Regions from separate parts of the Homo sapiens genome. Here all the other regions are linked to region 2. Evidence: promoter capture Hi-C in human tissues and cell types (Jung and others, 2019). All regions are on one chromosome and are shown on one strand. Each heading gives the region's core, a stretch centred on a gene start or on the middle of the fragment in contact. The rest is flanking DNA. Distances are from core to core; before and after follow the strand shown. Region 1 overlaps ARK2C (arkadia (RNF111) C-terminal like ring finger ubiquitin ligase 2C). Region 2 holds the start of LOXHD1 (lipoxygenase homology PLAT domains 1). Region 3 overlaps ARK2C (arkadia (RNF111) C-terminal like ring finger ubiquitin ligase 2C). Region 4 overlaps ARK2C (arkadia (RNF111) C-terminal like ring finger ubiquitin ligase 2C). Region 5 overlaps LOXHD1 (lipoxygenase homology PLAT domains 1).

What was found. The method cuts DNA at HindIII sites, captures the fragments that hold promoters and counts their contacts. A contact is called where the count stands out against the background at its distance.
Region 1: a fragment that was not itself captured here is called in contact with the fragment with the promoter of LOXHD1 in region 2 in 1 of the 25 tissues and cell types used here (H1 embryonic stem cells).
Region 3: a contact is called between a fragment that was not itself captured here and the fragment with the promoter of LOXHD1 in region 2, in 1 of the 25 tissues and cell types used here (H1 embryonic stem cells).
Region 4: a contact is called between a fragment that was not itself captured here and the fragment with the promoter of LOXHD1 in region 2, in 2 of the 25 tissues and cell types used here (lymphoblastoid cells and mesendoderm cells).
Region 5: a fragment that was not itself captured here is called in contact with the fragment with the promoter of LOXHD1 in region 2 in 1 of the 25 tissues and cell types used here (spleen).

What each region holds. Positions count from the first base shown.
Region 1 is chr18:46,458,610-46,461,309 of GRCh38, reverse strand. ARK2C (arkadia (RNF111) C-terminal like ring finger ubiquitin ligase 2C) reads right to left here. Exons shown (of 8, transcript NM_152470.3): 8 at 1-2,700. Among named protein-coding and RNA genes, the nearest start is that of ARK2C, 130 kb to the right of the region's middle. RefSeq lists an enhancer at 2,387-2,700. The HindIII fragment of the contact is 7,215 bases long and covers 1-2,700 here.
Region 2 is chr18:46,655,871-46,658,707 of GRCh38, reverse strand. LOXHD1 (lipoxygenase homology PLAT domains 1) reads left to right here and starts at 1,488. Exons shown (of 41, transcript NM_001384474.1): 1 at 1,488-1,804. The coding sequence starts at 1,675. RefSeq lists enhancers at 431-480, 291-1,240. The HindIII fragment of the contact is 5,571 bases long and covers 1-2,837 here.
Region 3 is chr18:46,414,452-46,417,151 of GRCh38, reverse strand. All of the region lies in intron 1 of ARK2C (arkadia (RNF111) C-terminal like ring finger ubiquitin ligase 2C), which reads right to left. Among named protein-coding and RNA genes, the nearest start is that of ARK2C, 82 kb to the right of the region's middle. RefSeq lists an enhancer at 1,590-2,538. The HindIII fragment of the contact is 5,765 bases long and covers 1-2,700 here.
Region 4 is chr18:46,439,756-46,442,507 of GRCh38, reverse strand. The region is part of intron 3 of ARK2C (arkadia (RNF111) C-terminal like ring finger ubiquitin ligase 2C); the gene reads right to left. Among named protein-coding and RNA genes, the nearest start is that of ARK2C, 110 kb to the right of the region's middle. The HindIII fragment of the contact is 6,852 bases long and covers 1-2,752 here.
Region 5 is chr18:46,483,600-46,486,368 of GRCh38, reverse strand. LOXHD1 (lipoxygenase homology PLAT domains 1) reads left to right here. Exons shown (of 41, transcript NM_001384474.1): 39 at 1,218-1,350; 40 at 2,624-2,769. Among named protein-coding and RNA genes, the nearest start is that of ARK2C, 150 kb to the right of the region's middle. The HindIII fragment of the contact is 5,750 bases long and covers 1-2,769 here.

The DNA.
Region 1 (2,700 bases), core at 105-2,604, 200 kb after region 2:
TTCCCACGGGATCTGTGTCACATTCTACTTGAATCTAAGGGACCCTAAAGATCTCCCAGTTCTCCTCACTCACCCCACCCAGAAAACTGAGACTCAGGGGCCAAGGGACTTGCTCAAGGTCATTGGGACGTCTGTCATGGAGCAGATTTGAAAACCTGAGCCTCCCGGCTCCCCAGTCCAGGGCTCCTTCTAAGAAGTCAGGCTTTTTGGCTCTCTGATGTTCCTCTTGTAATGTCTGGAGGGCTCCAATTCTGGAGTTGGAGGCCAGGTGGAGACAGTGGCCTCTAGTGCCCCAAGACTTTCCTCAGAGGATACCGGCTGGGTGGGCTGAGGTTGTGGGAGGAGCGAGGGAGGAGGAAAGGCAGGTTCATGATGGAGAGGCAGGGTTGTGGTGGGGGCGGGGGGGTGCCAAGTGTAGCAAGTGAAAGGATTACCCCAGTCTGCTGACAAGTGCAAATTATATTTATATATGTGCTAAATACAGTCACTATATTGGAGTTTTTCACTAGATCACAGCATACAGAATCAAAGGTTTGCATTTCGTATGGAATGTATCCAAAGAGGCCAGCACCACGGTAGGACAGCTTGCAATCACACACCCTGATAGTTCGGACGAAATAAAGTTTGCAGAATTTTATTTAAATTTTTTTTTTGTATTCGTAGTTGTTTGTCATCGTACCAATGCATGCAAAGCATTCCACTCCCAGAAACAACGCCAAAATGAGGTAATAGGAGTAATAAAAAAAATTAGTATCCTTTCTAAATAAATAAATTATAATTAAAAATGCAAAACAACTATAAAAATAATTAAATAAGAACCCACGATATCTACAAGTTAGTCATAAATTATGATTGTTAAATATAAGGCATTTAAACTCACAAAACCCTGTAAACTAGCAACGTGCCATGTTTTTTGTTTTTTGTGTTTTTTTTTTCATTTTTGTTTTTCTATCAGCTGAAATCGCTCTAGCATTTGCTCTACGCGCGCAGGAGATGAAACACAAGGGGGCCTGACAGACGTTGCTACAGCCCCACGCAGGGAGTGTTTGTCCCGCCTACAGGCGGGGGGCTTAGGGGATTTCTTTAGGAAAAAAAGAAAAAAAGTCTGGTGCTTTTTTCTTCACCATTGAAAAACTGTGCTTGTTCATTAGGCGTAAAGAGTTAAGAATACTTGCACGGAGGCTGGGAACATTTGCAGAAGAGGAGCTTGAGTCCTGCCACAGGTGGTGGCCAAGGGCAACTGGGTGCCGAAGGGGGTCCTGGCCAGGTGGAGGGGCAGCCCCTGCTCACCCTCTGCTTGCACCCAACCAAGCTTGTGGTGTTGGGTTGATTGATTGGCGTCCTCGGTGGACCCGCGGCGGCACAGCTGCTGCAGCTGCTAGGACGCCCAACTTAAACCCTGGGGCTGCTCTCACCCCAGAAGGCACTCATGCGTCTCAGTCAAGAAAGGGTCTGAGTCCCTTGAGTTGAGCAGGAGGAGGACTTACCAGTGGTCTCCCCTCCTGGAGGTGGTGGATGTGAGATGCTGAGGCCTGACCCTGCCTCTTCTCCACTCTTCCCAGACTCCCTGACCAGTGCCGGGAGCAGAAGCACAGACCCTGGCCCTCTCTTGTCCCCCAAACAGCTGCCCGGCTAAAGAAGTGGGAGCTGCAGGGTTCTGAGCACCCCATCACCTCCTGTCCCCATCTGTGGGGGAAGGAGGAGGGGCTTCAGGGTCTACCCCCAAAGTAAGCAGCTTCCCTCTCCCCTCTGGTGGTCCCCTCCCCAGTCCCTAATATTAGCCTGGGGCAGAGAATTGGGAGGGGGGAGGGGACGAGGGCCCACTGTCTCACCCAGCACGTGTGCCCCCAGCCCAGTCTGAAACAGAGTGTGTGCCCACAGAAAGTCCTTTTCAATAGCTGGGTGGGCGCACAGCTCTGCCGCCTTGAAGATGTGTTGATGTTAGGGAGTGTGAGTGTCAGAAGGAAATTAGCAAGCATCCAATCCAACCTCCTTAGGTTGTAACTGAGGAAACTAAGGCCCAGAGAGACAAAGGGAAGTTTCTAGTGTTGCCCACTTTGTCAGTGAAGAGCCCAGACTGGAACCTGGGACACCAGCTCTAGTTCTATCCTGGCCTCCCCACTGACTCCCTCCCACTTGCCAGCCTTTCAGGCCAGTCTCAGCAGAAAGAATGAAAGACTGAGACTAAGAGAGGAGTGAGCTTCCTAGACCACCCTAGCTACCTCCAGGCCAAAGCCATCTTCCGATGAATTCTTGGTTTTCACCCAGCCATTGGAGAGAATGGGGCAGAAGTCTCAACTTCCTGTGGCTATCAGTAACTAGCTTTCCCCCAAAATCCTGACTCAGATGTACTTTCCCCACTGGTGAGATCTCCAGCCTTTAGCCCTGGAGACATTTTCATACACTGGAGCTACTGAGTTGGACGCTGTGATACTCATTGCTGCTAACCCTGAATCAGGTTATTCACCATTTTTGCAGCATTGGATGTGTCTTGTCTCCTCAGCTAGATTGTGAGCTCCTCAAAGCTATTGTCTCTCCCAGCGCCTGCACCGGTAGGCACTCAATAAAGATTTTATAGAACACCAGGATATTAGTGCTGGGAGAAATCTCCTGCCAGGAGCCACTTCCCCCACTTTCTGCCTGCAGGTGGCCAGAGCAGCTATTCCCGCATGAACCAGTCGTGCTAGAAGCTCTTCCTCA
Region 2 (2,837 bases), core at 239-2,738:
CAGGAGAATCACTTGAACCCGGGAGGCGGAGGTTGCAGTGAGCCGAGATCACACCACTGCACTCCAGCCTGGGCGACAGAGGGAGACTCCGTCTCAAAAAAAATTCTAAGAAACGTTTTATTATCTTTTCCCTGAATGGGTACTCGTGTAAAATGAGTTTTCTTAGTAGATTCCTAGAGATCCTTAAGGAAGGTCTCTTCCTGAAGAATCCAGGTGTGTAAACCACATATTGCCAGAAGGGGGCGCGCGCCACCCACCATTAAACTTCACTCCTGGTCCTCAGAGGACTTTGAGCTGCTTCAAGGGCGGCCCCTCAGCTGAATAGGGGAAGAGGGGAGGTTGATCTTTCCTGGGTAGGAACGTTCGGGGTTAGAGATGCCTCCCCCTAGTGGAAGATTTGGATGGCTCCAAAGAGCAGGGCAGGACCAAAGCTGCCCCAGGCTGCCGGGGAGGCCTGTGAGTGCCGACTGCTCCTCAGGCGTCCGCTCCAAATCCTCTCTTCCTCTCCACCTGAAATTCCCCTTTAGAGTCACTATTTTGGCTTAGAGGACAAAATCACACGTGTTGCTTCTAGAGGACTCCTGTTAGCACACCTAAGTTACCTGAGAAGCGATTCAGGGACCCTCAACATGGCTGCACATGAAAGTCACCAGGAGCTTTAAAAACTGGGGCCCAAGCTGCGTCCCAAACCAAGCAAATCAGAATCCTTGGGGATGGGACCCACGCATTAGCGTTCAACACCTCTCTGGGGGCTTCTGGTGTGCAGCCCGGGCTGTGCGCCCTGGGGTAGGAGCTTGCTGATGCCCTCCCGTGAGTCCAGGTGGTGAGCTGATCTAGTTAGTGAGTTCACCTGGGAGGGCATCGGCTACGATGATGTTTAAACTTTAGTGCATATAAAGCTCACCTGGCAGGGGGAGCGGGGAGAGTTTTCTGGTGCCCTAGCTTTCCTCGTGCCCAGAGGCCACTTCCGGAAGCCCGCAGTCTTGATGAGATGGAAGCAGAGAGAGAGAACGAGAAGGATCCAGCGAGAACCCCGCCTGCTCCGTAAGACGATCAGAGGTCATGAATAATGGAGAGAAACGGGGGCCTTTGAGTCCTGGGAGCCTGGCTGATTCCGGGGCCCCGCCTTCCTCAGGAGGGTCCCGTGTGGGCTGTAAGGCTTGGGAGATCTCCTGGGTGAGGAGCCCTCACCTGTCCCTGGGGTGGCCTGGAGGGATCCCAGGTGACCCCCTGGCTGTGAGGCCAGGTGGGAAATGGACTTCAAGGGCTCCGTGTCACCTGATTCTCCATAGGGAGGAGAGAGGGCTGGTGGGGAGGGGAGAGAGGAAGGAAGTCAGCCTGCCCTCAGCGCCATGAATAAGTGATGAGGCCCAAAGAGAAGCCCCGGGGCAGGTACAGAGGAGGAGGAGGTGGCTCACCAGAGGGTGGTGGGAGGGGACAGGGACAGGAGGTTCAGAGATAAGGCACTGAGGTTCAGCTCAGGAGCCAGAGAAGGCAGAGGGAACAGCACCTTGGGCACGGGGAAGCCAAGAAAACGGGGCACTCTGGCCCACCCAGGCCTGAGCTATAGGAGGGCCGTGGGCGCCAGAGCTCAGGGAGGAGGTCTCAGGTTCCCGCAGGTGTGAGGAGGCGGCACAGTGAGCCTGCGAGCGCTGGGAGAAGGCAGCCGACAGAATGATGCCCCAGAAGAAAAGGCGGAGGAAGAAGGACATCGACTTCCTGGCCCTGTACGAAGCGGAGCTGCTGAACTACGCCTCGGAGGACGACGAGGGGGAGCTGGAACACGAGTACTACAAGGCCAGAGGTGCGGGGTCCCAGCCTGCGGGGGGCGGGTGGTGCAGCTGGCTGCGGTGGGCAGGGGTCTGTTCCTGTCTATGGGGAGTCATTCTAAGATTTCGGAGCAAGCCCTTCCTCACTGATTATCCCATGTGTCTGTTCCATATCCCCTCGGAGTAAGAAGGCAGGCATTATGCAGGGATGGTGGGGTCCCTGTTGTACAGACAGGTGGAGCAACTTGCCTTTAGCCCCCGATTCTCAGTGGAACAGAATAGACTAGAGCCACAGTGCCCCCATGGCCCCATGTTCTCCAGCTCCTGAACATCCCCAAAGCCACGTTCCAGTCTGGTCCCCGAGTAGGTGGTCTGCATCAGGCAGAGCGCCCTGAACTGCTGGGGTCATGAAAGGATGTCTTGGGGAGGAAGCCTGACAGCTCATCCTATGCCCACTGTGGTTGATGGAGACAGGGAGCCTGGGGCTTTGCAAGGAGATGTCCATCCCATATGTCGAAGGCGGCCGGTGCTCTGGACCCCAGGGCCTTGTCCTTCTAGTCTCATCTTTCCCTGGGCCACATGAGACCTGCTTGAAATTGCTCTAACTCCTTGCCAGGTAAACCAAAGAAGTGAACTGTGACCCTAGAGCTGGTTTTGGCCAGCAGAGTTTAAGTTGTTTTTTTCCTTTCCAGCGTTTTGAAATCCTTTTTTCTGTGAATGCCAATAGGCTGTGGACGTCCAGCTTATCACAGTCTCCACCACTCCCTGTCATCTCATACTAGGTCTGGTTTACTCATCAGTGCTGCCTGCCTAGTCTCTGAAGCCATTTAAATTCTCAATGCTGACTCCAAAGTGGCTCACCAGTCCCCGTAAGCGCCATAGTCATCCATGCATTCACTCATTCATTCATTCAGCAAGTATTTATTGAATGTGTGCTCTGTGCCTGCCCATGGCCTTGTTTGTCTTCCCCTTTCTCCCTCTTCCTGTCCTCACTCTGAAAGCCCAGTTCTGATCCCATCTCTTCCATGAAGCCCTCCTTGATTCCAGTCCACCATGAGTTCCCTGATT
Region 3 (2,700 bases), core at 8-2,507, 240 kb after region 2:
AAAATATATTTCATTTCAAGGGTACAGGTGACAAGATTTGTTCATGGATTGGATGTAAAACCTGAGAGACAGAGGACAAGATAGACTCCATATCTTGCTTGCTAAGCAACTAGAAGATTGGTGTGGCTGATAGTTTGCAAAAATGGCCTCAATTTCTCCCCTCCTTGTATGCTTACCCTCCCATACAAGCTCCTCCCATTAAAGGCAGAGTCTACTTTCCCACCCCTTGCCTCTGGGCATGGCCACGTGACTGGCTTAGGCCAATAGAAGGTAGCAGAAGTGACATCATGCCAATTCTGAGCCCAGGCCTCAAGAGACCTTGCAGTTTCCACTCTCTCTTGGTCTCCTGCCTCTACCATAAGAACAAGCCCAGGCTAACCTGCTGGAGAATGACAGACCATGTGATATACAAATAAACTGTCCTAGACCCATCTGTCCCAGCTGACTGCAGCAATGTGAGTGAGCCCAAGAAGACCAAAAGGACTTCCCAGCTGAGCCCAACCCAAATTACCAACCCACTGACTTGTGAGCTGCATAAAAGGTTGTTGTTTTAAGGCCAAATTTTGGAGTGATTGTTATACAGAAAAAGCTAACTGATACAAATGGCGTTGTCGTTTATTGAGGTGGGGACTCAATTTTGAGTTGTGCTCTCAATGTTCTGAATGTGAATCTGAATGCTTAAAGAGAAAAGTCCCTGTATTGTCTCCATGCAACACCCAGAGCACCCTCAGGACAGGGCTGGATGCAATCTGGGTGCTTGGCGGATGCTTACGGATGGAGGGAGGGAAGGATGGATGATGACTTCTTCATTGGCTTCCTTATCATGAGCCAGGTTTCTGTGTCACCCTTCTCCTCACAAAGCCAGAAGAGCTTTAAATGCCTCCTCCCTCCATGCCCACTGCTGTCTCAAGAGTTTATAGTTGAGCTTTGACTTCCTAGAGCTTTCCTGCAGATCCGTGTGTTTCCTTGAGAATGCAAAGCACTGATTTTTAGCCTTGATTTTGACCTCCCACACCCAGCCTTTTCCCAGATGTGCTGGCAAATAGACAAATCAATTGTTTTGAGTTTTTCTTCCTCTCCACCCCCATGACATGTTAATTAGCCATGAAAATGCCAGCAGCAAAGTCAGGAAGGCTGAGGACAAACCCCAGCCCTGAGTGGCCAGCTGGTGCAGCACTGGGTGTCCAAATTGGTTTCCATTTTCAAGGCTTCAGGCACTGTTTTCTGCCTCCCTGCTTACCTCTCCTCCCACCTGGCACTCCAGGTCCCTCGTGAACTCTGCTTCAGTCCCTCTGTGATGATCCCAGTCATATCAGCATATCACTTTACCTGTCACAAAGCTTTTCCCAAATTCAGCCCTACAACCATCCAGTGCAATGAATTATGGGCATTATTCCCATTATTCCCATTTTAGAGATGAAGAAACTGAGGCTCAAGGGTTAGAAAGACTTGCTCAGCATCACTTGGCCCAGGTTGGGAATCTGGAGCCTGTTTGATTCCAAGCCCGTCTTTCACTCTCAGCACCACCAAAACACGTTCTCAATAAAGGGCCTAGTGCACCAGGGAGGGGGCTCCTTCAGCAACTTTTTTATTTTTATTTATTTTTTTATTTTTTTTATTTTTTTTGAGACAGATCCTTGTTCTGTCGCCCAGGCTGGAGTACAGTGGCACGATCTCGGCTCACTGCAAGCTCTACCTCCCAGGTCCACGCCATTCTTCTGCCTCAGCCTCCCGAGTAGCTGGGACTATAGGCGCCCACCACTGCCTATAAATATAAAAAATTTTTTGTATTTTTAGTAGAGATGGGGTTTCACCGTGTTAGCCAGGGTGGTCTCCATCTCCTGACCTCGTGATCCGCCCACCTCGGCCTCCCAAAGTGTTGGGATTACAGGTGTGAACCACTGTGCCTCGCCTTCCTTCAGCAACTTACTGGTAAGGTCACTGCCTTGGGGCTCACGTGGGTATTCACATTTCGATGAGTGTCAGTCAAACTCTGGCAGAGGTCATGTAGGCCTGGGGAGGGGACACTCTGGACTGACACAGGGACTCCACCAGGCCCTGAAACTGCAGCAGCGCACAGGCTGACTTGGCTTCTGCTCCCTCCCCTGCCCATTTCCTGGGCTTTGGCTCCAGATGTTATCTGAAGCCGATGGAGTGTCCATGAGCTGAGAATAAAGGCCCAGCAGGACTGCGGCTTAGCTCAGCCCCTACTCCCTCACACATCCTCCTGCAGCCCTGGGTGGAAGTGCACGCTCCCCATTCACAAGGCTGTGATGACACAAAATGAAAATGTTTCCTAGGGGTGAAATGGCTCCCAATGAATCTAACACGGCCACTCATATGGCCTTTCCCAGAGGCCTCTGCAACCTGCCCTCCGCACTGGGGCAAAGGAGGACCTGAGGACCAGGATTCCACGTGCTGTGTTTGCCCTTCTGGAGTCTCAAGGCTGTGTGTATGTGCATGTGTCTGTGAGCGTGCATCTGTGTATGTGTGTATTGTGTGGTACGTGGCATGATCATGAATGTATAAGCATGTGTGTGTGCATGGTGTAGGTATGGATATGGGCATGTGCGAGCATGTGTCTGTGGGATTTGTGTGAACGTGTTCATGTGCAGGTATATGTCTATTCATGGATATGTGCATGTACATGCATGTTGTGGCACCTGTGATGTGTGTGTGTGTACATGTATGTCTGCACGT
Region 4 (2,752 bases), core at 76-2,575, 220 kb after region 2:
TGATCACACTGGTATTAAATTAGAAATCAACAACAAGAAAAGTCTGCAAAATCCCAAGTTTTCAAAAATTAAATAATAAACTTCTAAATTACCCAGGGTCAAAAAGAATTCATAATGCTAACTAGAAAGTTTGTAGTCCTTAAAGAAAAATTCAGTTTTATATGCTTATATTAGAAAAGAAAACCCAAAGTCATGATCTAAATTTCCGCCTTAAGAAGCTAGAGCCCAAATAAGTAGAAGGGAGGAAATAATAAAATCAAGATCAGAAATCAGTGAAATAAATCAGTGAAATAAAAAACAAGTAATGGGATCAAAGGCTATTTTCTTTTTCTTTTTTTTTTTTTTGAGACGGAGTTTCGCTCTGTCGCCCAGGCTGGAGCGCAGTGGCGCGATCTCGACTCACTGCAAGCTCCGCCTCCCGGGTTCACGCCATTCTCCTGCCTCAGCCTCCCGAGTAGCTGGGACTACAGGCGCGCGCCACCATGCCCGGCTAATTTTTGTATTTTTAGTAGAGACGGGGTTTCACCGTGTCAGCCAGGATGGTCTCGATCCCCTGACCTCGTGATCCGCCCGTCTCGGCCTCCCAAAGTGCTGGGATTACAGGCGTGAGCCACCGCGCCCGGCCTCTTTTTTTTTTTTTTTTTTTGAGATGGAGTCTCGCTCTTTCGCCCAGGCTCACTGCAAGCTCCGCCTCCCGGTTCACGCCATTCTCCTGCCTCAGCCTCCCGAGTAGCTGGGACTACAGGCGCCCGCCACTGCACCTGGCTAATTTTTTGTATTTTTAGTAGAGACGGGGTTTCACCATGATAGCCAGGATGGTCTGGATCTCCTGACCTCATGATCTGCCTGCCTCAGCCTCCCAAAGTGCTGGGATTACAGGCATGAGCCACCGCGCCTGGCCTGATCAAAGGCTATTTTCTAAAGAGTAGTACAAATGATTAAATTTCTATCTAGATTGATCAAGAATGAAAGAGAGAACATACAAATTACTCATATGAGGAATGAAAGAGGGAGCTTTATTACAGATTCCAGATGTTAAAATGATAAGAAAATATTATGAATAGCCTTATGCCAGTACATCCAATTAAATGAGAAAATTTATTGAAAGACAAACTACCAAAATTACCAGATGCAGTGGCACACACCTGTAATCCCAGCTACATGGGAAGCTAAGGCAGGAGAATCATTTGGGCCTAGGCATGTAAGACCAGCCTGCGTCTGGGCACAGTGGCTCACACCTGTAATCCCAGCACTTTGGGAGGTGAGGTGGGAGGATTGCTTGAGCACAGAAGTAGAGGATCAGCCTAGGCAACATAGCAAGACTCTGTCTCTACAAAAATTTAAAAAACAAAAAGTTAGCTGGGCACAGTGGTGCACACCTGTAGTCCCAGCTACTTGGGAGGCTGAGGCAGGAGGATCACTTGAGCCCAGGAGATCGAGGCTGCAGTGAGCCAAGGTGCACTCCAGCCTGGGTGACAGAGCAAGACCCTGTATCTAAAAATTAATTAATTAATTAAAAATAATAATGCCAATCCTACACAACCTCTTCCAGAAAGTAGATGAGGAAAGACTTCCCAAACCATTCAATGAGGCAAGCAGTGCACTGATATAAAAATCAGACAAAGGCATTTCAAGGAAAAAAAAAACCCTATAAACCAATATTACTCATGAACAAAGATGTAAAAATTACTTAACAAAATTTTAGCAATTTGAATCCAGGAACATGTAGATTAAATGAGACTTATGTGACATATCAACCAATCACAATGTGTAAAACTTATTCGGATCTTGATTGATACAAAGTATAACAGAAATTTTAATACTGGCTAGATATTTGATTATAGTAAAAATTATTATTAAATTTCTTTGTGTTAATAGTGGTATCAAAGTAAGGATGTGAAAAAGCAGAATCATTATCTCTCGAGATACATAGTGAAATATTTACAGATGAAATAATATGATGCCTGGATTTGTTTCCAAATATACTAGTTTCTCCTTTTCTGTGAGGGATATGTTCCAGGACACCAGTGGCTGCCTGAAACTGTGAATAATAAGGAATCCTATATATACTATGTTTCTTCCTATACTGTATATTCACACCAATGATAAAGCTTAATTTATAAATTAGGCACAGTAAGAGGCTAACAATAACCAATAACAAAATAGAACAATTATAACAATATACTGCAAAAAATGTTATGTGAATATGGTCTCTCTCTCTCTCTCTCTCTCTCAGTCTCTCAAAATGCTGTAATATCTTCAGACCGTGGTTTACATGGGTAACTGAAACCCTGGAAAGCGAAACCACAGGTAATGGAGACTACTGTAATATCAGGACCGGGGAAGCGAGAGAACAAAGATGAGTAAAACTGGCCATGAGATCTGGGCGTGGTGGCTCACGCCTGTAATCCCAGCACTTTGAGAGTCCGAGGCGGGTATATCACGAGGTCAAGAGATCGAGACCATCCTGGCCAACATGGTGAAACCCTGTCTCTACTAAAAATACAAAAATTAGCTGGGTGTAGGGTGTGCGCCTGTAGTCCCAGCTACTCAGGAGGCTGAGGCAGGAGAATCGCTTGAACCTGGGAAGCAGAGTTTACAGTGAACCAAGATCGTGCCACTTCATTCCAGCCTGGCGACAGAGCGAGACTCCGTCTCAAAAAAACAAACACACAAACAAAACAAAAACAAAACTGGCCATGAGTTGATGTCATAGCTGGATAACATATATGTGTGAATTCATTATACTATT
Region 5 (2,769 bases), core at 5-2,504, 170 kb after region 2:
CTGGGAGTGGTGCTACATTGAGCCACAGGTATGGCCGTCTCTCATCTTCATTATTTTTATCATGTCTCTGAGATAAAGGCACAGAAACAGAGCTACCCCTTTGGATCCAGAATCCCAGACCGTCAGTCATCCAGGTACTGCAGCAAGGGGTCTATGTCTGGGGACACTTGAGCCAGACACTTACTGTGTCCTCCAGGGTGCTGGTTCCATCCCTGGTCTGGTCCCTGGGGAGTGAGCCTGGATCACATGTCACACTCTCTCAGTATCTTGGCTTAGGGGGATCAGGTAGCAATTTTAATTAGGGTGGTTGGATAGACATCTCTGAGACATGACTTTTGAGTAAGGATGAGAAGGAGGTGAGTCAGTGAGCCACGCCACTATGGGTGGGGGAGGGAGAGGGAAAGAGGGAAGGACTCCAGGCAGAAGGACAGCATTGCAGAGCTCTAGGGAGGAGCACACCTAAGTGCTCTGGGTGCAGCTAGGAGGCAGAGTGGCTGGAGTGAGAAAGAGAGAAAGTACCAGGACACAAGGTGGGAGAGGAAATGGGGAGCCAGGTTTTCCTCTTACCCCACGGTACTTTGGCTCTTTTTTGCAGGGTTATCTATCACATTCTGTCATATGGTACAGTCCATGTTTGTGTCTGGGGCTAGAGATTGAGTTCTAGTGTCACCCAGGGTCTAGTCCAGTCCTGGCACTTGGCACCTACTTAACCAGTGTTGGAGGAGTGCACACCTGTGCAGACACGATTGAGTGAATAGCAGGGTGAGATGGAGTGACACCAAGACAAGATGCAAGTGAGACTGCTTGCTGGAGCAAGTGCAAGGGTCTTTGGGGTGGCTTTGCCTGCCTGGGTCTTTCCCCTTTGCTTTTGCACTGGGCCCCACTTCTTGTCCCTTCTCAGCACCAATCTCCATTTTGCATCTCACCCCTGTAGCTGAATGTTCAGCCCCACCTCCTGCTGCATTCCCAGTGGCTCCCATATTTGCCTACAAAGAGGTTGCTACTATAAATAAAATGAGAGCATTCGCTGTAGCCCCAGAATCCGGGCAGATTCTACCTACAACGCCTCAATCGTGGTGCTTTTAACCTGCCTCCCCCACCCCCAGGCTGCAGCCTAAGATCAAATGAAGGACCGGAGGCCGTGACCCTCTTGCTCCCGCCCTGAAGACGGGCACTGCTTCCCCTGTGCTGACCCTCCCCCACCTCCTCCATTACAGCCTACGAGATCGTCATAGAAACGGGCAACGGAGGCGAAACCAGGGAGAACGTCTGGCTCATCCTGGAGGGCAGGAAGAACCGATCCAAAGAGTTTCTCATGGAAAATTCTTCTAGGCAGCGGGCCTTTAGGAAGTAGGAAGGGGAGGCCCATGGGAAGTGGTGGGGGGTGGGTAGGTAAGGGAGGACCCCGAGAATCTCCCTCTTGGGTGGGAGCCATAGGTACACAAATGGGCCTAACCAGCAAGTACTTACTGAGCACCTACTGTGTGCCAATCCTGTGCAAGCACCCAGGGGCTAAACAGGCAATGGTGAAAGGGAAAGCATGGGACTGCATTTAATGGGAGCCCACCCTGTGGATGGACAGTGCTACTCAGTCCAAACATTGCCCCACATCTACGTAGACAAGGACCACACCTCCTTCCATCAGAGCCACCTCTGAACTGTTCGGATGCCCACTTCATCTCCTCACTCTCTCCAGGACTGCTGAGACAGCCTCCACCTCCCCCTTAACTCTGCTACATCTTTCTCTTAGTCCATTCTGACTGCTATAACAGAATACCTCAGACTGGTAGCTTAGAAACAACAGAAATGTATTTCTCACAGTTCTAGAGGCTGGGAGTCCAGGACCAAGGCACCAGCAAATCTGGTGTCTGGTGAGGGCCTGCCTCCTGGTTCATAGCCATCTTCTCACTGTGTCCTCACATGGCAGAAGGCGGAGGGAGCTCTCCAGGGCCCCTTTTATAAAGGCATGAATCTCATTCATGAGGGCTCAGCTCTCATGACCCCATCACCTCTCAAAGACCCTACCTCCAAATACCATCACACTGGAGAATAGGTTTCAACATATAAATTTGGGGGAACTGGGGCACAGACATTCCATTTATAACAACCTTTTCTTCAAATCTCTACCTCAGGATGAAGTCTGGACACCTTAGACTGGCACTTACCCCCACAGGCTGCCTGCACCCATACCTTCTCCATTAGCTTTTCCCTCCCTGAACCCAAACTTCACCCAAGCCAGCATTCCCCCAGAAATATCTGCACCTCCACACCCCACTGTTCCCACCTATGACTTTGCTAAGACATGTCTGTTACAGGGGACTCTTCCCTTCCCCTCCTCCCTCTGCTCTCCAAGTCTCACCACCCTCCCCATCTCCATCCTGCATAACGATGTCACCATTCTTTGGTGCTGAGGCCAGGCAGCTAGTGGGGCTTTTTCATCGTGATTGTCTTGGTCCCAAACTGAACTGAACCCCTCAAAGCCTCCAGGACTGCCATGAGCTCCTGCTTGCCATCCCATCCCTGTTCCCTGGCCCACTGCTTGGAATGCAGCAGGCCCCCGACAAATGCTTACCTGCTTCAGTGGGCAAAGGCAGCTCATGGACCACACTTTTGTTTCCTGCAGGGGGACCACAGACACGTTTGAGTTTGACAGCATCTACTTGGGGGACATTGCCTCCCTCTGTGTGGGCCACCTTGCCAGGGAAGACCGGTTTATCCCCAAGAGAGAACTTGCCTGGCATGTCAAGACCATCACCATCACCGAGATGG